Linked DNA regions of Homo sapiens: region 1 is linked to region 2. The links are contacts of gene promoters, found by promoter capture Hi-C in blood cells and fetal thymus (Javierre and others, 2016). All regions are on one chromosome and are shown on one strand. Each heading gives the region's core, a stretch centred on a gene start or on the middle of the fragment in contact. The rest is flanking DNA. Distances are from core to core; before and after follow the strand shown.

The links. The method cuts DNA at HindIII sites, captures the fragments that hold promoters and counts their contacts. A CHiCAGO score of 5 or more calls a contact.
Region 1: a contact is called between a fragment that was not itself captured here and the fragment with the promoter of ACTR3B in region 2, in 1 of 17 cell types (neutrophils). The highest score is 5.1, in neutrophils.

The regions. Positions count from the first base shown.
Region 1 is chr7:151,503,837-151,508,675 of GRCh38, forward strand. The region is part of intron 1 of RHEB (Ras homolog, mTORC1 binding); the gene reads right to left. It also overlaps the pseudogene ETF1P2. Among named protein-coding and RNA genes, the nearest start is that of RHEB, 14 kb to the right of the region's middle. The HindIII fragment of the contact is 8,388 bases long and covers 1-4,839 here.
Region 2 is chr7:152,756,555-152,761,078 of GRCh38, forward strand. It overlaps ACTR3B (actin related protein 3B), which reads left to right and starts at 3,198. Exons shown (of 12, transcript NM_020445.6): 1 at 3,198-3,372. The coding sequence starts at 3,329. It also overlaps the pseudogene RN7SL845P. RefSeq lists enhancers at 2,840-2,999, 4,000-4,049 and silencers at 3,250-3,769, 3,530-3,824. The HindIII fragment of the contact is 7,028 bases long and covers 1-4,277 here.

The DNA of each region.
Region 1 (4,839 bases), core at 656-3,155, 1.3 Mb before region 2:
TTAATAGAAGTGAGATCATACTGGTTTTTTTCTTATTTTGATTGGAGAAAAATTAAATTGCTGCATTTCGCAGTGATCCATTTACATGGCATTCCCAGCTTAGACTGCATAAGAAATAGATGTGGTGAAATGTTGGAACCATTTCTCTCTTGGTCTGTTTAATGTTGAAAGGGTGAGCTAATAGGAGGCAATTTCAACTTCACTCCCTCAAGCTACCCTGTCTCCCTCCAGACTGGCAGTTTCAAGGATGCAAACTGCATTGCAAAATCAAACTGACTCATGAAGCATTTGGGCCAGTGCACTGTTTACTTCCATCTGTTTGCTGACACATTTGTGCCCAGCGTTTGGGAGCCCTTTGTATCAACGTTCTGACAAGTGTCCCTATAACCTTAACCTACTCGAAACCAGTTTGGGTTGGATATGATGGGGCTTCTGTGCTATTGCTGGGATTGGGGGAAATAAAACATGCAATTTAAGTGGGGGGAAAAAATCCACCCAAAGGGATACAGGCATCCCTTGGTATACAAGGGGGACTGGTTCCAGGATGCTTGAGGATAGCAAAATCCGAGTGTGATGAAGCCCTGCTTTTCACCCTGCAGAATCTGCATATATGAAAAGTCGGCCCTCCATACATGTGGGCTTTGCATCCAAGGAATACTGTATTTTCCATTTGCATTTGGTTGAGGAAAAAAAAATTCCTGCCTATAAGTGGGCCCACACAGTTCCAACTGTGTTGATTAAGGGTCAACTGTCCTATTAAGCAATACAAAGGAATTAAATACTGGTATATGTACACATGAATAAATCTCAAATGTGTTGTGCTAAGTAGCCAGACGCAAAAAGCTGCATAATATATGGTTCCATTTATTGGGCATCCTGATAAAGACAAAACTATAGGATAAAAACCACAAAGGGGTAGGGGGCTAACTAGAAACAGGCACAGGGCGCTTTTTGGGTTGATGGATTGTTCTACAGCCTGATTCTGGATGTAGATGACTGCAGACTTGCCAAAACCTGTTGAATGCTACCTCAAAAAAAAAAAAGAAATTTTCTCAAAGTTTTAAATGTTATTTTTCCTTTCTTTTTACAGGTGTGGGACCTCAAGTTTTTTAAAAAATCTTCACCCTTACCTCATACATAAAAACTAACTAGAAATGGATCAGAGACCTAAACATAAAAGCTAAAACTACAAAACTTCTAGAATATGAAAAAAAAAACCCAAAAAACAAAACTTTCTCAAGTCCAACAGAGCTTAAAAGTGAAAACAAAAAAAAAAACAACTTTATGATCTTCAGGTAGACAGATTCCTGACACGATACAAAATAAACAAAACAAAAAAAAAAACGAAAAAGTGAACCGAGTTTCATCAAACTTACAAACTTCTTCTGTTCTCTGAAACACAGGAACAACAAAAAAGTCACACTAGGAGAAAATATTCATTAAATACACATCTGAAAAAGGACTTTTATTCAGAATATATAATTCAGTAAGAAGAATCTGATAATCTAGGCAAAAGACTTGAACAGACACTTCACAAACCAAGATATCCAAATTTCCAGTAGGTATATGAAAAGATGTCCACCATTCTTAGTGGGAAATTTCAAATAAAACCACAACCTACCATCTGAGAATAGCTAGAAAGTTAGAAAGGCCGCCAATACCAAGTATCAGGGAGGATGGGCAGGCAGCAACCAAAGCTCTCATGTGCTGCTAGTGGAGGCATAAAATGGTCAAAATGTTTTGGAAAAACAGTTTGGTAGTTTCTCCTAAAGTATACACTTAACATATATGTGACTCAGCAATATCACACCTAGGTATTTACCAAAGAGAAATGACTGTGTGTCCACGAAGACATTTACTCAAAATGCTCATAATAGCTTTATTCTTAATAGTTAAATACTGGGATAACCCAAATATCCACCAATGGGTGATCAGATAAACAAATTAAGGTATATCCATTCAACAGAATACCACTTTGCAATAAAAAGAAATTATACATGCAACACCATGGATGAATCTCAAAAACATTATGCTAACTGACATACAAAAATGAGTATATATTGTATGATTCGATGTATGTGAAATTTTAGGGTAAGAAAAACTAACCCAGAGTGATGGAGAGCAGATCAGTGCTTCCCGGGGAGCTGGGGTAGGGCGTGAGGGACATGAGAGAACTTGTGGGGATGACGGAATGTTTCATATTTTGATAAAGGCAGAGGTTACATAGGTGCATAAATCTGTCAAAACTCATCCAACTCTACACTTAAAATGGATACTTTATTATATGTAAATTACACCTCAATAAACTTGATTTAGGAAAAAAAGATTTTTTTTAAAAGATAATGCATTTACTTTTTTTTTTTTTTTTGAGACAGGGTCTCTATCTGTTGCCCAGGCTGGAGTACAATGGCAGGATCATAGCTCACTGTATTCAAACTGCTGGTCTCAAATGATCCTCTCACCTTGGTCTCTCAAAGCACTGGGATTACAGGTGTGTGTCACCATGCCCAGCCCATTTACTACTTTTTACTAAACAGTATGAGATGGTGGTTATTAGCTATGTGACTTTGGGCAGTTTTCCTGAGTCCTTTTCCTTATCTGTAAATGGACATCATAATGGTACCTATCCTATAACGTGCTTTGTGAGGATTAAATGAAAATGTATACCAAACATCTGGCATGTAGCAAGTGCTCAGCAAATCTCATTATTATTAATATTAGTAATACTATTAGTAACTGCTCTTAGGCAGAAATAATCCGCTTAGGATAAAAAAAGTATTTTCGGAATTATATCTAATAAATTAACCTGAAAGATGACATACAGTAACTATTTCAACTAAAGCCTCAAAATAACACAAGCAAAATAACAAACATACATATACCCCTAAAGCAGAAAATTACTGTTTCATTTACCCACAGCTGAGTGACTGACACCACCCATTTCATGTGCTCATGGTTCTACAGTCAACGCTGGGCTCACTTTTAGTTTACTCTTTGGGGGGCCTTTATCTGGTGGGCTGGTGGTGCTACACAGCTGGGAAGGCGGGGCATTCTCCCTTTCTCTGTGTCTCCTCCTAACATCTACTGCACATCACTTGAGGCTCCCAAGAACACAAAAGCAGAAGCTGCCAACTTCTTAGGGCTTAAAGCCTGGAACTGGCACATCACCATCTCTGCTGCATTCTGCAGGCTCAAGACAGTCACAGGGCAAGCACAGGAATACCAGGAGAGTGCCTCGTTGGGGACTAACAATAGAACAGACACCAGTAAAGCAGACTTGGTTTGTAAACGGCAGAAAAAAGACTGCAGACTCACCTGGCTTATAAATGGAATGAAACCTGAATCACCACTGTTAAAAGGCTGGAAAAACAATGAACCGCATAAAGGTTTCTATGTGTTCCTTACATGACACACAATGCCAATCATATGCTTAACAATCGTATGCACCCACTCTAGTAAGAAATGTGTAGCTCCCCCTATGGCAGGATTGGTGGTTGTTGCTTTTTCGAGAGGGAGGGGTGATATGTGTTGTATTGTGTGTGTCTATGTATATTACACACACACATATATATAGTGTCACTAAGGAAGTGTTTTGAAAAGATGTTTACGATTCTAATTGGAATACCAATCCCCACATGTCCGTCATATAGAGTCAGATGAGAGTGTGTGATGCAGAACATACACATCTTAATTATTGTACAGAACCTAAAAAGTGAGACACCGTTAGAGTTTACGGAACATTCTCACATGAATTATCTCGCTTGTTCCTGTGAGCTAAGCAGGGTTGACATCATGTTGTTCTTTCTCACACCCCTTCCCCAATTTTAAAAATAGATGCTGGGAGATTTTAAAAAAAAGAAAAAATTAAACTGCAATTATTATTATTATGACAAAGACAAGGCAGAAAAAGTAAAACTAGTTCATAAAAATACCCTTTCAAATACTTATAGGTAACCCTATTGCCAATTATTATGCTACCAGATATATACCACTGAGGAAAATAAGAAATACGTTTAATTATATAACATGAAGGACTCAGTTTCATAAATGAAGAATTTTATTAACAGGATTATTAAACTAAAGAAAAATAAAGTGCTACCCAGAAAGGCCATAAAACTGTTTCCCTGGAGATTTTCAAAACAGGATATTCATCTCTACAGGATGGTTTAAAGACAAAGCTGAGGTGGAAGGCAACAATAATAGCCCTGATAAACTGCAGGAAATTAAATGTTTAGCAACAATGAAGAATGAGTTTTCCTAGAACGGTGGCCAATCTGGAGAGAAGACCTGGGATACAGGTGAGGGTGGGAAAGAGCTAGAGAAAAGCAAAGACAAAAATTCTCTATTTCTTAACATATTAAAGAACATGAAATTTAAGAATGATCAAAACTAGTAATAACACAGTATGAGGAAAATGAGATATGAAATAGAGTATACTCATCCGTCAGCCTGAATGGTTAAAACCATTCATATTTTATAAAGATAATTTCTTCAAAAGTTCTTAAAATCTGCGCTGACCTCATTATCAACACCAATTCACTCCTCACAGTATCTGGGCTGTCTAATATGGCAGCCAGTAGCCATACATGGACAGTAAGTACCTGAAATGTGCTCAGTTCCGACTGAGATGTGTCACAGTGTAAGTATGACAAATGTACAAATATCAACAATATCCATCACATGTTGAAATAACATTTTGGACATACTGAGCTAAATTAAGTATATTAATTTCACTTATTTCTTTTTACTTAATATGCCTACTGGAAAAATCTAAAATTACATTAGGTTATATTTTTAGTTTTTTTTTTTTTTTGAGACCTCAGCCTCCCACTTTTGTAG
Region 2 (4,524 bases), core at 1,948-4,447:
CATTTGGCCTTCTGGCCTCCAGAACTGTGAGAGCATAAATATCTCTTGTTGAAGCCACCCAGTTTGTTCTACTTTGTCATGGCCACCCCAGAAAAAGAATAGAAAAAGAGCTGATTAATGACACAAGAAGAGAAGCAGCTGGGAACTTCCGGAAACATTTCCTCCCACTGCCTTTGAGAAAGGGCATCAGGATGGGGCATTTCTTCCACTGTTTTTGTCCATCATGATTTTGGTGCATGGAGGGGCTGCAGCCGTCTCAACACTGCATGGGATAAGCTGAGGACAAACGACAACACGCAGGGCCCTGGCAGAGCTGAACGTACAGGCCCATGATGATGCCATCGAATGGTCAAATTATCCTGGAGTCACTGGATTTCCTATTGTGCGAGATAACAAATTTGCTCTTTCCTTGTGCCACTTTTAGTTAGGTTTTCTGTTATCTGCCTACAAAACACCTTTGATATATCAAGGGTTAGTGGTATCTAGAGGAAATCACTGAGGTCAGGAAATCTTTTGTTTTCTACCAGCTGCTGACCATGGCCATCAATCCCAATGAGTCCTATGCAGAGAAGATGCTCCCTGAAATCGCACACCCTTTATTACTAGCCAGTCCCAAATTCCTGTAAAGACTTCTTCCCTGGTGTAGTAGCTGGGTCCTATACAAGCCTTGAGGTCTTTCTTCCTGGGCTTTGTGCATGTTTTCCATCCCAGAAACACTCTTCCACCCTACAGTCTCCTCCACCTAGCTACTCTGCCCACCTTCTGGGTTTCAGCTTCAATATCATTGCTTTGAGAAGTTTCTACTGATTCCCAAGTCAGCCCCTCTATGGCTTTCTGGGCACCCTGGACTTGCCCTGTCTTAGCATTGACTACACTGTATTGTAATTGCCTGTTTACTGTTGCTATCTCCCACTGGACTCTTGTGGGCAGATACTCTGAACATCCTGTTTACTGCTGCATGCTCAGTCTAACACAAAGCCTGACTCACAGTAGGCGCTTGATATATGTTTGTTAAGTGAATAAAATAAAAGACATGGCAGTGTCAACAGTCTGTAATTTAGAATTAATCTATGTTTAGGCTAGGGCCGTGAAAAAAATGGGAGCTGGGCTGGGAGCAGTTGTACTTGCCTGTAGTCCCAGATACTCGGGAGGCTGAGGTGGAAGGGTCCCTTGAGCCCAGGAGTTCTGTGCCACCCAGAATGATGGATCTGCACTAAGTTTGGCATCAATATGGCACCCTCCCAGGAGCGGGGAACCACCAGGTTGCCTAAGGAAGGGTGAACTGGCCCAGGTCAGAGATGGAGCCGATCAGAACTCTCATGCAGATCAGTAGTGGGACCATGCCTGTGAATAGTCGCTGCCCTCCAGCCTGGGCAACATAGTGAGACCCTGTCTCTAAGAAACAAGCAATAAGAAAAGAAAAAGAAAAGGGACCAAGGCAGGGCTTTGGCAAAACACAAAGCAAGCCAGCCAATCTTTAACCCCAGCCTTGGGCTTCTAAACTGGGATTCCTCCACACTTACTCCTTTTTATTTTCCTCCCATTTGCTTCTCTCTTCAGTTCTCCTGAACATTCTCTAGGTCTGGGCCTTAATGGGTACTTATGAGTTAAAAAAAAGAAATGATGATGGGTTACCTAGGAGTGGTCAACGTATCTATTACTTCTAGGTAAAAAACACAATGTTTTAAGTACCTGTAAAAACAACATGTCTTGGCTGGGCGTGGTGGCTCATGCCTGTAATCCCAGTACTTTGGGAGGCTGAGGCAGGCAGATCACGAGGTCAGGAGCTCAAGACCAGTCTGGCCAGCATGATGAAACCCTGTCTCTACTAAAAATACAAAAAATTAACCGGGCATGGTAGTGGGTGCCTGTAATCCCAGCTACTTGGGAGGCTGAGGCAGGAGAATTGCTTGAACCTGGGAGGCGGAGTTGCAGTGAGCCGAGATTGCGCCACTGCACTCCAGCCTGGGCGACAGAGTGAGACTCATCTCAAAAAACAAAACAAAACAAAAAAATACATGTTTCCAGAAAGCTCCTAAAAAATTAGTATCAAGAATTTACGATCGGGCAAGAAGCAGGAAGCAAGTGGCAAGTGGGACTCTCAGTACCTTTATAATATAGTAGGTGGTGTTTGCCTTCTTTGGTTTCAGTAAGAACTTTTGGGCGATCATCCCATCTTCGACACTTGAAAACATTTTCCAGGAGTGATCTTGGTGTGGTTTACTCAGTCTAAGGCCATTCATTCCTTAAGGCTGGCCAAGCATTTGTTTTGCAGATTTTTCTTCTTAGAAAAATTTAGGCCGTGTTAGGTATAATAATTCCAACTAATTTTTTTTGTTGTTTTTTTGAGACAGACTCTCGCCCTGTTGTCCAGGCTGGAGTGCAATGGCGCGATCTTGGCTCACTGCAACCTCCGCCTCCCAGGTTCAAGCGATTCTCCTGCCTCAGCCTCCGGAGCAGCTGGGATTACAGGCACCCGCCACCACGCCCGGCTAATTTTTGTATTTTCAGTAGAGAAGGGGTTTCACCATGTTGGCCAGGCTGGTCTGGAACTCCTGACCTTGTGATCCACCCTCAGCCTCCCAAAGTGCTGGGATTACAGGCGTGAGCCACCGCGCCCGGCCAATTCCAACTAATTTTTTTTTTTTTTTTTATTATATGGGGAAGGTTACTCAGTCATTCAACAAACATTTGGGCACTTCCACAGGTACACCAAATACTGTGCTAAGCACCTGCTGCTCATCAATAGTGATTAAGACAGACTCAAGCCCTATCCTAGAAGATTTGATAGTCCAGTAGGGGAGGCAGACAACAAATACATAAATATAAAAATATAAACACTTTGCTTTAAGGGTTAGGAATGAAACCAACAGATTGTTGAGACAGAGGATACAGTACCGGTAGGGGACATAGTCAGGGTGATCAGGAACAACTTCCCTCGCAAGGTGACATTCGAGCGAAGACTTACAGGAGGAGAAAGGCGCCAGGCCTCGGAAATGGGGTCACGTTCATGTAAGTCAGTTAAAAATAAACCCCAATCTCTCCAGCAGCAAGGTTGGACGTATGGGGCCAAGAAGCCTCGCTGCCAGCACTAAAGATGGCGCGCCGGAGTGGGGGTGGGGGTGTTGGGGGAGGCGGGGCGTGCGCGCGTTCTGATTGGCCGACCGGGGAGTGACGTCACGTGTCGGCCGCCGAGCATCCGGGCTCCCGGCAGCGGCGCTGCGGCGGCTCGCGGGAGACGCTGCGCGCGGGGCTAGCGGGCGGCGGAGCGGACGGCGACGGGGCGCTCTCGGGCTGCCGGCGGGGCCGAGCGCCGCGCGTCCCGAGCATGGCAGGCTCCCTGCCTCCCTGCGTGGTGGACTGTGGCACCGGGTAAGAGCAGCTCGGCGCCCACCCCCGCTCCTCCGCGGCCCCGCTCCCGGCCCCTGGCGTCCACCTCGCCTGGAGGTCGAGCTGCGTCCGTCGCCCCGGGCTTGAGCCCCGCGATCACCTGGGCAGGTGGGGCGCCGGCCGCCGCTTCCCTCCAAGCCTTGCCTTGACGTCGTAAAACCCCCTCTTCCCTGCCGGGAAGGGCCACAAGAGGAAAAGCACGGAGGGTAGGGACGCGGTGCCCACTCTGAGCGAGCCCGGCGCTCCTCGCCTCCCCCGCCCACGTGGCCGGGCCCCTGGACCCGCAGCCCGGCTCCGGCCGTCGCCGGGGTGGACACCCTGAGGGACACCGGGAGCGCGGGATCTCCCCTCCTAGGAATATTCGCCAGCGTGAGGCACAGATCATCACTGCAGATCCTTTAACGTCACTCATCTCCTAGTGAACGGTGTCCCTGCCTTCCAGCGTTCTCAGCACTGGCCCTCGTTCTGTCCCCGCGTGTGCGTGTCATTCCTCCTGGCTGAGGATTCTTTACCACCTACTTGTGGAGAGAATAGCATCGATCTCCCAACTTGATACCATTTTTACTGCCCTCCCTGCGCTTTTCCAGTATGAAATGGCACACTCAGGCCAAGCTGTCCCTTTGGTTTGCATAGATTTGCCTTTTCGCTGAAAAATGATGTGTTTAAAAAGACTCCATTTTGAAAAATACCCTAAATTTGGGAGAGCATGTTTGTGGAATTGTGGTAGAGGTTTTTGTTTTTAACTTTTTGAGTGTGACCACTTCTTTCGTTGCCGTTAAGCTATTAAAAAGAGATCTTAGGAAATGCCCTGAAGTATCGGTGACCCAAGTTAGCTGGTTGTAGTAAGGTGATTGCTGAATCCATGTAGCTGGTAGTTTGGGAATACAAGCTTGCCTGCCTGCGTTATGGGTGTAGTGCTTAGTAAAATAGCCTGGAAGTAAATTTGGTCTCTTAGCGATTTTTTTCAAGAAGGGATTTTAATCATTTTTGCCACAAAATGTAACATGGCATGTTCACCTTACCCTTGATTCTTTTCTATAGAAAAATGCACTTGGTTTGGTTTCCTTGACAACCTTGTGGGGGTGCCTTCTTTAGTTTGCTACAGTCCATCTCCTACTGTTAGTTCCTTCCTTT